Regions from separate parts of the Homo sapiens genome. Here regions 1, 3 and 4 are each linked to region 2. The links are contacts of gene promoters, found by promoter capture Hi-C in blood cells and fetal thymus (Javierre and others, 2016). All regions are on one chromosome and are shown on one strand. Each heading gives the region's core, a stretch centred on a gene start or on the middle of the fragment in contact. The rest is flanking DNA. Distances are from core to core; before and after follow the strand shown. Region 1 holds the start of TMED4 (transmembrane p24 trafficking protein 4). Region 2 holds the start of PSMA2 (proteasome 20S subunit alpha 2). Region 3 has its middle 210 kb from the start of INHBA. Region 4 holds the start of YKT6 (YKT6 vesicular SNARE protein).

Evidence for each region. Contacts are between HindIII fragments. The CHiCAGO score rates a contact against its expected background, and 5 or more counts as called.
Region 1: a contact is called between the fragment with the promoter of TMED4 here and the fragment with the promoter of PSMA2 in region 2, in 1 of 17 cell types (fetal thymus). The highest score is 5.8, in fetal thymus.
Region 3: a fragment that was not itself captured here is called in contact with the fragment with the promoter of PSMA2 in region 2 in 1 of 17 cell types (M2 macrophages); the score reaches 6.2 in M2 macrophages.
Region 4: the fragment with the promoter of YKT6 here is called in contact with the fragment with the promoter of PSMA2 in region 2 in 1 of 17 cell types (fetal thymus); the score reaches 6.5 in fetal thymus.

What each region holds. Positions count from the first base shown.
Region 1 is chr7:44,580,891-44,583,590 of GRCh38, reverse strand. It overlaps TMED4 (transmembrane p24 trafficking protein 4), which reads left to right and starts at 1,360. Exons shown (of 5, transcript NM_182547.4): 1 at 1,360-1,544; 2 at 1,768-1,868; 3 at 2,017-2,142; 4 at 2,352-2,498. The coding sequence starts at 1,385. RefSeq lists an enhancer at 877-986 and silencers at 1,077-1,236, 1,637-1,736. The HindIII fragment of the contact is 9,471 bases long and covers 1-2,700 here.
Region 2 is chr7:42,930,802-42,933,501 of GRCh38, reverse strand. It overlaps PSMA2 (proteasome 20S subunit alpha 2), which reads left to right and starts at 1,328. Exons shown (of 8, transcript NM_002787.5): 1 at 1,328-1,384. The coding sequence starts at 1,344. MRPL32 (mitochondrial ribosomal protein L32) reads right to left here and starts at 1,126. Exons shown (of 3, transcript NM_031903.3): 1 at 986-1,126. The coding sequence starts at 1,115. RefSeq lists an enhancer at 948-1,177. The HindIII fragment of the contact is 5,414 bases long and covers 1,028-2,700 here.
Region 3 is chr7:41,914,036-41,916,735 of GRCh38, reverse strand. No RefSeq gene overlaps it. Among named protein-coding and RNA genes, the nearest start is that of INHBA, 210 kb to the right of the region's middle. The HindIII fragment of the contact is 1,232 bases long and covers 802-2,033 here.
Region 4 is chr7:44,199,561-44,202,260 of GRCh38, reverse strand. YKT6 (YKT6 vesicular SNARE protein) reads right to left here and starts at 1,283. Exons shown (of 7, transcript NM_006555.4): 1 at 1,022-1,283. The coding sequence starts at 1,125. RefSeq lists a silencer at 1,107-1,176. The HindIII fragment of the contact is 756 bases long and covers 637-1,392 here.

The sequences.
Region 1 (2,700 bases), core at 111-2,610, 1.7 Mb before region 2:
GAAAGGCAGCAAACTGTTGTTGAAGTTGGATGATGAGTACAGCCCTCCGTTATTATCCAAGGGGGATAATTCCTGGACCCCTACGGATACCAAAATCCAGGTATGCTCAAGTTCTTTATGAAAGTTCATTGTAATTATTCTATTATATAAAAGTTTCGAAATTCTGTTGATAAAATGTATTTTTAGTAGAGACGGGGGTTTCACCTTGTTGGCCCAACTGGTCTCGAATTTCTAACCTCAGATGATCCACCAGCCTTGGCCGCCCAAAGTGTTAGCATTACAGGCGTGAGCCACCGCGCCCGCCTGGCCTTGATAAAAACAGTTTTAACCTTCCGTTGCTTCGATTCCATGCCCACTAAGTAACATTCCAGTTTGTTTTTCACTTTCAAAAGGATGTGCTGTAACTAGGGGATGTAAACAAGCTCCATGACCCTACTTATTCCAAGTTTTCGTTCCACTCTCCCACCTTTTTTTTAAGACAAGGTATCACCCTCGGTCGCCCAGGCTGGAGCGCGATCACTGCTTAATGCATCCTCGACCTCCTGGGTTCAAGCGATTCTCCTGCCTCAGCCTCCCAAGTAGCTGGGACTACATGCGCACACCACCACACCGGTTAATTTTTTGTAGAGACGGGGGTTTCACCATGTTGCCCAGGCTGGTCCCGAACTCCTGGGCTCAAGGGATCCGCCCGCCTCAGCCTCCCAGAGTGCTGGGATTACAGGTGCCAGCCACCGCGCCCGGCCCCAGCTTCTTAAAAGAATGATCCGAAACTATGGCAGCACTGGGCTTTTGGTCCCCACCCAAGAAATGCCCGCTCGCAGAGGCTCGCCGCGGCAGGCTCTCCCGACGTGACAGAGTGTGGGTCTGGATTCAGCCTCGGTTCTTACGAGTCAGATAGGTGGACACGCAAAGCAAAACATCACAGGGCTTTTTGTATTTAGCACAGAAAACACTTGTGAGCCCGAGCTGAGAACCCAAAAGGCACGCTTCAGGCCATCGTAGCCACCAAGCCTGGTCAGATTCCGTCCACCGTCTCCTTGGTGCTCCGAGACCCAAATCGCTGACTGGGGCCGAGGGCGGGCGTGACTGCGCAGGCGTGCCTCCCCTGCGAGATGCCGGAGGTAAGCTGCGGGGTAAGGGGCGAGAAATTAAGGGCGAACGTCATTGCGCATGCGCCCTCTACTCTCGTTGCGGGGGTAGGCGGGCGCCGGGCTGTGTGAGGGGGCGGGGCGCGGCAGTGTTCGGTACGGATGGAGTTGCAGGAGACGGCGAGTACATATCACTGCGCAGGCGTCCTCTTCCCCTAACTCTCAGGGTCGCTAGGGTGGCGCGCAGGCGCAGAGCGATGCGCAAATGTGCGCAGGCGCTTAGGGGCTGAGGCGCGATGGCAGGTGTCGGGGCTGGGCCTCTGCGGGCGATGGGGCGGCAGGCCCTGCTGCTTCTCGCGCTGTGCGCCACAGGCGCCCAGGGGCTCTACTTCCACATCGGCGAGACCGAGAAGCGCTGTTTCATCGAGGAAATCCCCGACGAGACCATGGTCATCGGTCAGGCGGGCTGAGGGTGGGGAGGCCCTTTGTACCCAGCTCAGCCCTCGGCGGCGCTCCCTCCTCCCGAGCCCAGCCGGGTCGCTGGCTCCCCCAGTACCTAGCCTGAGGGTGCCCCGAGGACGCCAGGCCCCCTGCCTAGAGCTCCGGGCCGCACGTCGGAGGGGGCCGGGCGGAGAGGCGGCCCACTAGGGCCGGTCGTGACTATGTGTCTGCCCCGCAGGCAACTATCGTACCCAGATGTGGGATAAGCAGAAGGAGGTCTTCCTGCCCTCGACCCCTGGCCTGGGCATGCACGTGGAAGTGAAGGACCCCGACGGCAAGGTAAGGCTGGCGTTGGCCCACGCAGCCGTTCTTCAGTGGAGCTCCCGTGGGGTGTAAAGCACTGCCTGGAGGAGGCCTCAAGGGACAGGAACTTGCACTTGGAGAGCCTGCGGTATAAAGGTGGGGCCTTCACTCACATATGTTGCAGGTGGTGCTGTCCCGGCAGTACGGCTCGGAGGGCCGCTTCACGTTCACCTCCCACACGCCCGGTGACCATCAAATCTGTCTGCACTCCAATTCTACCAGGATGGCTCTCTTCGCTGGTGGCAAACTGGTAAGAGGATTTTCTCTTTGGCTTCAGCTTAGAATCTCTCACTTGTTTCCAAATTTTGATTTATCAAGATTGTGAAACTTTGTAGCACAGTCAGAATTGGGGAGACAGATGTTGCCTTCTGCTCCACAGCCAGGGACAATAGTGGGTTCCATACCCTGGAACAGACAACTGGAGGCCCCACCACTCATACATTCCATGTTTCCTTGTAGCGGGTGCATCTCGACATCCAGGTTGGGGAGCATGCCAACAACTACCCTGAGATTGCTGCAAAAGATAAGCTGACGGAGCTACAGCTCCGCGCCCGCCAGTTGCTTGATCAGGTGGAACAGATTCAGAAGGAGCAGGATTACCAAAGGGCAAGTGCATATCTCCTTGTAATTTGAGAGGGCAGTTGACCTTTATACCCACTATACCTACTCAAGTTTCTGCTTGGGAGATCAGCTCTGCAGAGAATGGAATGAGAAGTATTGGTTTAGATAGGTTGTTTGTTTGTTGTTTTTGAGACGGAGTTTCACTCTTGTTGCCCATGCTGGAGTGCAATGCCATGATCTTGGCTCA
Region 2 (2,700 bases), core at 79-2,578:
AGGGAGGGAAGGGAAGGGAAGAGGAGAGGGGGGAGAGGGGAAGCGGGAGGGGAGGTGAGGGCAGGGCTGGAAAGGAAAGACAGATCCAGAGAGTGGTGAGCCTTGATGCCAAGTGAGACCTGCAGAACTGTCCTCTCAGGACAACTCTGTACAAATCCCTGAACTCCACAGACTTGACCAAACTCTAGCATAGTTTCTAGCAGCATAAGGCTGTATCCTAGGATGACCTCGGCCCCCCCTTTAAAGTGCCTGCCTGAGAAAGCTCAACGCTGCCTGGAAAATTTCCTATTTATTTTGGCCAACATACCCCGATAGTAGGTCCCGAACTCCCTTAGAGCATTTCCTGGAAAGGGCATATAATTGTAAATACGTATCCCTTGCAACTAACTCGGAAGCTTTTCTTTCAAGGCCCTGAGAGCCATTCCTTCGAAATCTAATCATTAGGAAGGATAGGGCCTTTGTCTCCCAGTCTCTGCGGGAGGATAGAATTCTCCCTAAGACAACTGCGAGCTAGCAGACACAGCCGGCTAATCACATTTGCACTGACTTCACTATACTACACTTCTCTGACTCTACAGAGCCCCTACACTCCCGCCTCGCTCATTCTCCCTTTAAAACGCCCAAAGTCACCTCTGCACAAACCGGGATGGAGCTCAGCTCTTTACCTGCAGTAGTTACTGAATAAAATCTGTTTTCAGCGCTTTACTTACTGGCTGGCTATGATTTATCTTTGACACAAGCTTGGGTTACATTCTGTGTACGAATGGAACAAGCAGAGGAATTTTTTTTTTTTTTTTTTTGCGGTGGAGGGAGCGCAAAAACAGTCGTTCTGTTCTCGCTAATATGGGAATGTCACGAACTACGTCCCCGACATGAGGCCGCGGATCAGAACCGGGGCTGAGGGCGAACTGTGTAAGCTGCGTCTGCTACGCTGCCCGAGGTCCCGTCATCAGCCCCCTCTCCCACGGAGCCCTTCTTTACCTACCCCACGGAGGACTGGGAAAGCCCGGCCGGCTCTGCGGAAGCTTCCGTAGCAGTCGCTCCCAGTAGTTTCGAAGCACTCCCCGGGCCGCAGACCACGGCGAAACCACCAAGACCAGCATGGCCAGCGCCATTTTCCCTGCTGGAAGACCGCCCCGGTCCCGCCCCTGCTTTCAGCATGCGCACAGGCACAGAATCGGGCAAGCCTCGCTTCTTAGAACTACAACACCCCGCATGCTCTTGGAGCAGCTCTGACTCTCCTCCAATCATAGAGAGTAAAGGAAAGGTGAGGGGCGGGGAAATGAAAGGAAATCGGCCACAGTGCGCATGTGTGCGGCTGTGCTTTGGCTCTTCGGGTAAAGATGGCGGAGCGCGGGTACAGCTTTTCGCTGACTACATTCAGGTATGGAAGGGGCCCTCGAGGTCTTCAGCGTAGTCGAGGTTGCTGGTACTCTGTCGATTTAGTTTTTCCCATCCTGACGTCGGCATTGGTGCTTCTGGAGGGTCCAGTAGGGAATGGAGTTGGAAATGCGGCTTTGCAAAGTCATTTGCCAGGCCGACCCGGGATTCCTGGAGCTTCCTTGGTCGGAGGCTGCTGGAGGGTCGGGGGGATGCGGTTTTGCGGGGTTAACATGGGGCTGCGGGACGGTGAGGCACATAGCCAAGGATTCGCTTTCACTTTGGAGACCAGAAAAGAAGGCAGTTTTAGCTTAACCATCTCTGGGTGGCCCGTTCCGAACTCAGGATTTTTTTCCTGGCTCAAGTAGACCTGATGCGGTGGTTTCTGAAACTTGGAATCTTGGTCAAATATGTGGGGTTCCCTTTTCTTGGAAAACTCTCAGCTTTACAGTTAAGTCGGAGTCTTGGTCTCCATTTGGCACTAGTGTCTTTCAAAACCTCCCGCTTTCGGTTTCTTCGATGCACGAATTAGAAACATAAGGACTAAAAACCGAAAGCCCCTATCACTTTTTTGTGAACCCCTAACAACGAGGCAAGTTTGAGTTTTGGTCTTTTTTTGGTGGACTGGGGGGAACGTCGGGGAGGGGGATGTTTACTTTAAACAAGATTGTAGGTTTTTCTATTGTAGAAAAGGGGATTAGAATAATAAGTTTACTTTCCAAAATACAGTTGGGGCGAACCATGGCTCTCAACGTGAGAAAACCATCGCCGAAGACTTTTAAAAATTGACTGGGGAAGTTTTCTGACTTACCCATTTTCTTAAGGATCAGTAATGCCCAGTTTACTTAAAATGTACTCCTGACAACTGAAGGCAGGCGGGATCTAACTTGTTGAGTACTTTGTTAGGTGCAACTTAACCTTAACCTGCTCCATCTCTTTCCACTGCTATAATGAATGTTATCTCAGCTTCTTACAGATGAACTAACCGCAGCTTGTACAAATTAAACAACTTGTCTAAGGTCATCGGTGAGTAGCTGAGTTGACATTCAAACTGGGTTTTTTTTCTGATAACAAAAATACACTTTCCATTACATAACGTTGTCTTAAATTCCAAAAGTACTTTTCTCTTGGCAGTTTTCAGTAAGCAGTGGGTGTATGTAATAGTTTTTTTGTAACCTTTGAACGAGATTAATTTAATTATGCAATAAAAGGTCTCATTATATTACATATGACAGAATAGTGTGTGCAGGATGTATTCACTGTTCCTATTTATGAAGAAAACAAATGTGGTCCTTTTTTTAGGGACAGGGACTTGGCAGC
Region 3 (2,700 bases), core at 168-2,667, 1.0 Mb after region 2:
GCCTGATATTTATTCTACAGCCTCCTATAAATCATGAAGACTTAAGAAAAAGGCAGGGCTTTGTGCAGTCAGCTTTGAACAAGAACATAGAGGCCAGAGTTTCATCATGAGGTCTGTGACTTGCCACCTACTTTGCCATCACTTGAGAGGTTGAGTAAGACAGGCCATCAGAGAAGACGTTGAGGTGGAGAATGTGAGACCCACATGCACACAAGCCGGCATGCTCTTCCCTGCCTCCTCTTTCTTTTGTGACCTCTTATGGAATGCTGTGGGAAAGCACTCAAGTCCTGAGGTTCCATTGGCTACGGAAACGAAGAAATTTGAACTAACTCTTGCTAAGAAACTGTAATTAGGACATGGACCCTGACATAATTATCTTTGTGAATTTCATTGTGTTTTTTTTTTTATTTTTTCTAAGTGAAATTGCTTCAGAAAATTGGAGAGCCATCTTACATTCCATGTGGAGAATTTATTAGCTATGAAAATAATTCATGAAGTTATGGGTAGAAACATGTTGTTAACCTTGAAGGAAAATTAAAATCAGAGTAATAAAATCTTCCATTTGCAGAGTGTTCCATCATTCTAAGCCATGGTCGCATCTACTTCCTCTTTGTGGTCCTCACAAGAGCCTTTGAAAGCTGGCAGGGCACCAGTTTGAGCCCCTTTTATATTTATTCACTTATTCATTCATCAACTATTTATTGCATGCCTATTTTTGTGCCAGGCACTGGTGATGCACTGGTGAACCAGTAGGCAGGTGTTTTTTTTTTGTTGTTTTTTGTTTTTTCCCTCCCTGAAGCTTGTATTTTGCCAGGGGTAGCAGACAATAAAACAAAGAGTACATAATAAACAATTAAATGAGGAAAAAGTAACTGAAGAGTCCTAAGTGCTATTCAGATAATTCAAATAGGTGGCTGTGGGATGGACAGCTAGTTTAGATGACATGACCATCAAAGGCAGCTCTGAGCAGAGGACATTTTAACCTGAGACCTGAATGACATGAGCTATCTCTGCACAGACTGCAGAAAAATATTCTTCATAGATAAGAAAATTGAGACCCAAATAGATTCAGTGACTCAAAGACCATACAGATGGTTAGGCCATGATGGACTTGAACTTCAACCTTAAGTTTCTGAGTCCAAGACCAGTGGCATTTCTATTCACTATTTACTTCACTAGTAGATATGGAAGAATATATAAATAATGCTCAGCATTGCTTTCGCACACTGGGAGAGCTAGGTTAGGTTTTATCAATGGTAATTTTGATAATTTAGTACTCACATGTTGATTTTTCAATTATTTCTAAATGAATAAGAAAATTGTAGTTTGAACTTTTAAAACATATGTAGAGCTAATCTTGTAACAGTGAGAGAAATCTAATACAGCTGACTCCTTCTTGCATGTGACCTCACAAGCTAACTGCCATTGCCCGTTTTTGCACGTAGGCCAAGCTAACTATGGGAGGAATTTAGTTTCCAGTTTAACTTTATTTTTAATTTTTATTTATTTATTTATTTATTTATTTATTTTTTTGAGACAGGGTCTCACTCTGTCTCCCAGGCCGGAGTGTAGTGGCACAAACATGACTCCCAGATTCAAATGATCCTCCCACCCCAGCCTCCCAAGTAGCTGGGATTACAGGCACACACCACCATGCCTGGCTAATTGTTTAACTTTTTCTGTAGAGACAGGGTCTCTCTTTGTTGCCTAGGCTAGTCTCAAAATTCTGGGCTCAAGCCATCCTCCTGCCTCGGCCTCCCAAATTGCTGGGATTACAAGCCTGAACAAACACATCCAGCCTATAGTTTAATTTTAAAGCAAAGATGATAACAGTGCCTGCCCCAAAGTAACCCTCGAGGAGATAAGGAGGACATATGCACAAGTAACAATGTTATGTTGAAGATTTATAGGAGCATTGTGACCTGACCAAGGACAAAGAAGTTTTGCATCCTCCTTGGACTTCTGCTGATGCTCAGATGTCTGTGGTCACCAGCCACCTCCTTCTTCCCTCTTCCCCAGTATAAAAAGAAGCTTGAGATTCATGCATTCTAAGATAGTTATTTAGGACGCTGTTCTGCTGGCTCTCTCTGAAGTAAAGTCGTCTTCCAACACCTTGTCTTTCAATGTGTTGGCTGTCGTGTGGTGAGCAGTGTGAGCTTTGGACTCCACTACAATCTCAACTCCTGCATGGATGATTTCTAGTCAAAATGGATGACATTCTGGTCAAAAAGAATTAATACCAAGATAATTGCAACAATTTTGTTCTCTCTCTTGCTTTCTGTGCCTTCCTTTCTCTCCCTCCCTCATGTATCTGAGTATCTTTCCTTTCTAAGCAGTACAGTAACACTGCGAAACAGGCTTAATTGCTGTTAGGAATTTCTTAGGAAGTGCTAGGATTTATCATTTCTAGCTGCCTCTCCACTAGTAGCATGCTGGATAATTCAAAGTATTTGGAATTCTCTTTTTTGCAAATATTTTAACAGGATTACAAAGGAAGCCCTTTTGGTGGAATAATGTCATTATTATAGCTTGAAAAAATACCTTAGAGTTCATGGCCATGGTTGATTAAGGAGTCTTGTAAGAGAAGTGTTGACAAAAATACTTTCCAGAATGAATTAAATAAAACCCATGAAGGAATGTGTACATATATCTATATCTATATCTATATCTATATCTATATCTATATCTATATCTATACAT
Region 4 (2,700 bases), core at 34-2,533, 1.3 Mb before region 2:
ACTCAAAGAAGCAGAAAGTTTCAACAAAATAACATTTTTTTTTTTTTACATCCAGCAAGTCCTTGGCAAAGAACTCTCATCAAGAACCAGCTGCACTGAAGCAGGGAAAACAGAATCCAAACGGCAGATTCCATCAGATTTTGAGACAAGATGACCATAGATACCGACCATGTAGGGTCCTCCTTCTTTCGTGCCTGAGTCACCCCAATCCCTCCCACGAATGGTCTGGAAGTGTCTGTGTTACTTCTAACACGTTCCAGCAATTAAAGCGCCCCAGAAACAAGTAAAAGCCTGTAAGCCCTACAGATCCCATGCTTCATTTGCATCTTCCGTGTGGAATCCTTTTGTACCACTAGTGTCCAACTAAAAAGCGTTAAACCTGGCTTTCAGTTCTAGCTGGTTGTGATATAACCTCTTGGTACCTCAGTGACTTCACCCATTAAAAACAAACAAAAAAAAGTATATCACTATCTCTCATACAGAATTGTTGGGAAGCCCCGCAAGAAAATCAAAATATGGCTCTCAAGATGCGGCACCCAAGCTCCCAGAGTCAGAATCACTGGGTGGGAAGTGTTGGTCTAAAATATAAATACCGAGGCCTCAATCTACTAATTCAGAACATCTTGGCATGAAGCTTGGAAATCTGCACTACTTCACAGTCTCCTTAAAATTTTTACACGACAGAAATTTGAAAAACACTGAGTAGAGAACTATATTCTAGAATGGTATAAGCTCTTAAAGAGCTAATGTTGGTTCCTCAAAGGTAGAGTCCACGGCCAGATTCCATTATAGGAGACCAAGCCCGGACAGCAGACCCCGGGCCCTCCCCACCCCGCCCCGCCTCTGACTCGGACACCAGCCTTCTCAGACCCCGGGCACTCGGCCACCCCGCCCTGCCCCTACCCTTGGCCTCCTCCACCCTCCCCTCATCCCTCCGCCGACCCCAGGCCCACTCCGACTCGGACCCCCACCCCAGTCCTCTCCGCCCGACCGCCACGGCCCACCAGCCTGTGCCGCTCACCTGGATCTCTGGAAAAAGCTGAAGGAAGACACATCGTATGCGGCTTTGAGCAGCACCACCTTGGCCTCGCCTTTGTAGAGGACGCTGAGGCTGTACAGCTTCATGGCTCCGCGCCCTCAGGCCGCCCGCCTGCCCAGCTGCGGGACCCGTTCTCAGGGAGCAGCGCGGCCGCCGCCCCTCGGGACCGCCGCCGCCTACCGGCCTCTCAGCAGCCGGCTGCTGACGGGGCCACCGCCGGCTTCCTCCTCCTGGCTCGCAATCCACTTCCGGATCCGGTCAGCCTGGTTGAGGGTTCTCATACTCCGGATGCAGAAATGTGAGCCCGGAAGTACAATGCAGCGAGGGGCGGGATGCCACGCCTCGCGTAAGCTTGGCCCCTCCCTGCTCGCCAGGTGGAGTCGGGCGCGCGGCGGGATACCGTACTGTCTTGTGCTGGGTGGTGCTGGGCCTCCCACAGCGGCCTGAACCCTTCTTTTTTTTTTTTTTCTTTTCTTTCTTTTTTTAAAGTAAGCATTTTTTTTATTATTATACTTTAAGTTTTAGGGTACATGTGCACAACGTGCAGGTTTGTTACATATGTATACATGTGCCATGTTGGTGTGCTGCACCCATTAACTCGTCATTTAGCATTAAGTATATCTCCTAATGCTATCCCTCCCCCCTCCCCCCACCCCACAACAGTCCCCGGTGTGTGATGTTCGCCTTCCTGTGTCCATGTGTTCTTATTGTTCAATTCCCACCTATGAGTGAGAACATGCGGTGTTTGGTTTTTTGTCCTTGCAATAGTTTGCTGAGAATGATGGTTTCCAGCTTCATCCATGTCCCTACAAAGGACATGAACTCATCATTTTTTATGGCTGCATAGTATTCCATGGTGTATATGTGCCACATTTTAGGAGGAGCTTGTACCATTCCTTCTGAAACTATTCCAATCAAAAGAAAAAGAGAGAATCCTCCCTAACTCATTTTATGAGGCCAGCATCATCCTGATACCAAAGGGTGGCAGAGAGAGACACAACAAAAAAAGAATTTTAGACCAATATCCTTGATGAACATTGAAGCAAAAATCCTCAGTAAAATACTGGCAAACCGAATCCAGCAACACATCAAAAAGCTTATCCACCATGATCAAGTGGGCTTCATCCCTGGGATGCAAGGCTGGTTCAACATACGAAAATCAGTAAACGTAATCCAGCATATAAACAGAACCAAAGACAAAAACCACATGATTATCTCAATAGATGCAGAAAAGGCCTTTGACAAAATTCAACAACCCTCATGCTAAAAACTCTCAATAAATTAGGTATTGATGGGACGTATCTCAAAATAATAAGAGCTATCTATGACAAACCCACAGCCAATATCATACTGAATGGACAAAAACTGGAAGCATTCCCTTTGAAAACTGGCACAAGACTGGGATGCCCTCTCTCACCACTCCTTTTCAACATAGTGTTGGAAGTTCTGGCCAGGGCAATCAGGTAGGAGAAGGAAATAAAGGGTATTCAATTAAGAAAAGAGGAAGTCAAATTGTCCCTGTTTGCAGATGACATGATTGTATATCTAGAAAACCCCATCGTCTCAGCCCAAAATCTCCTTAAGCTGATAAGCAACTTCAGCAAAGTCTCAGGATACAAAATCAATGTGCAAAAATCACAAGCAGTCTTATACACCAATAA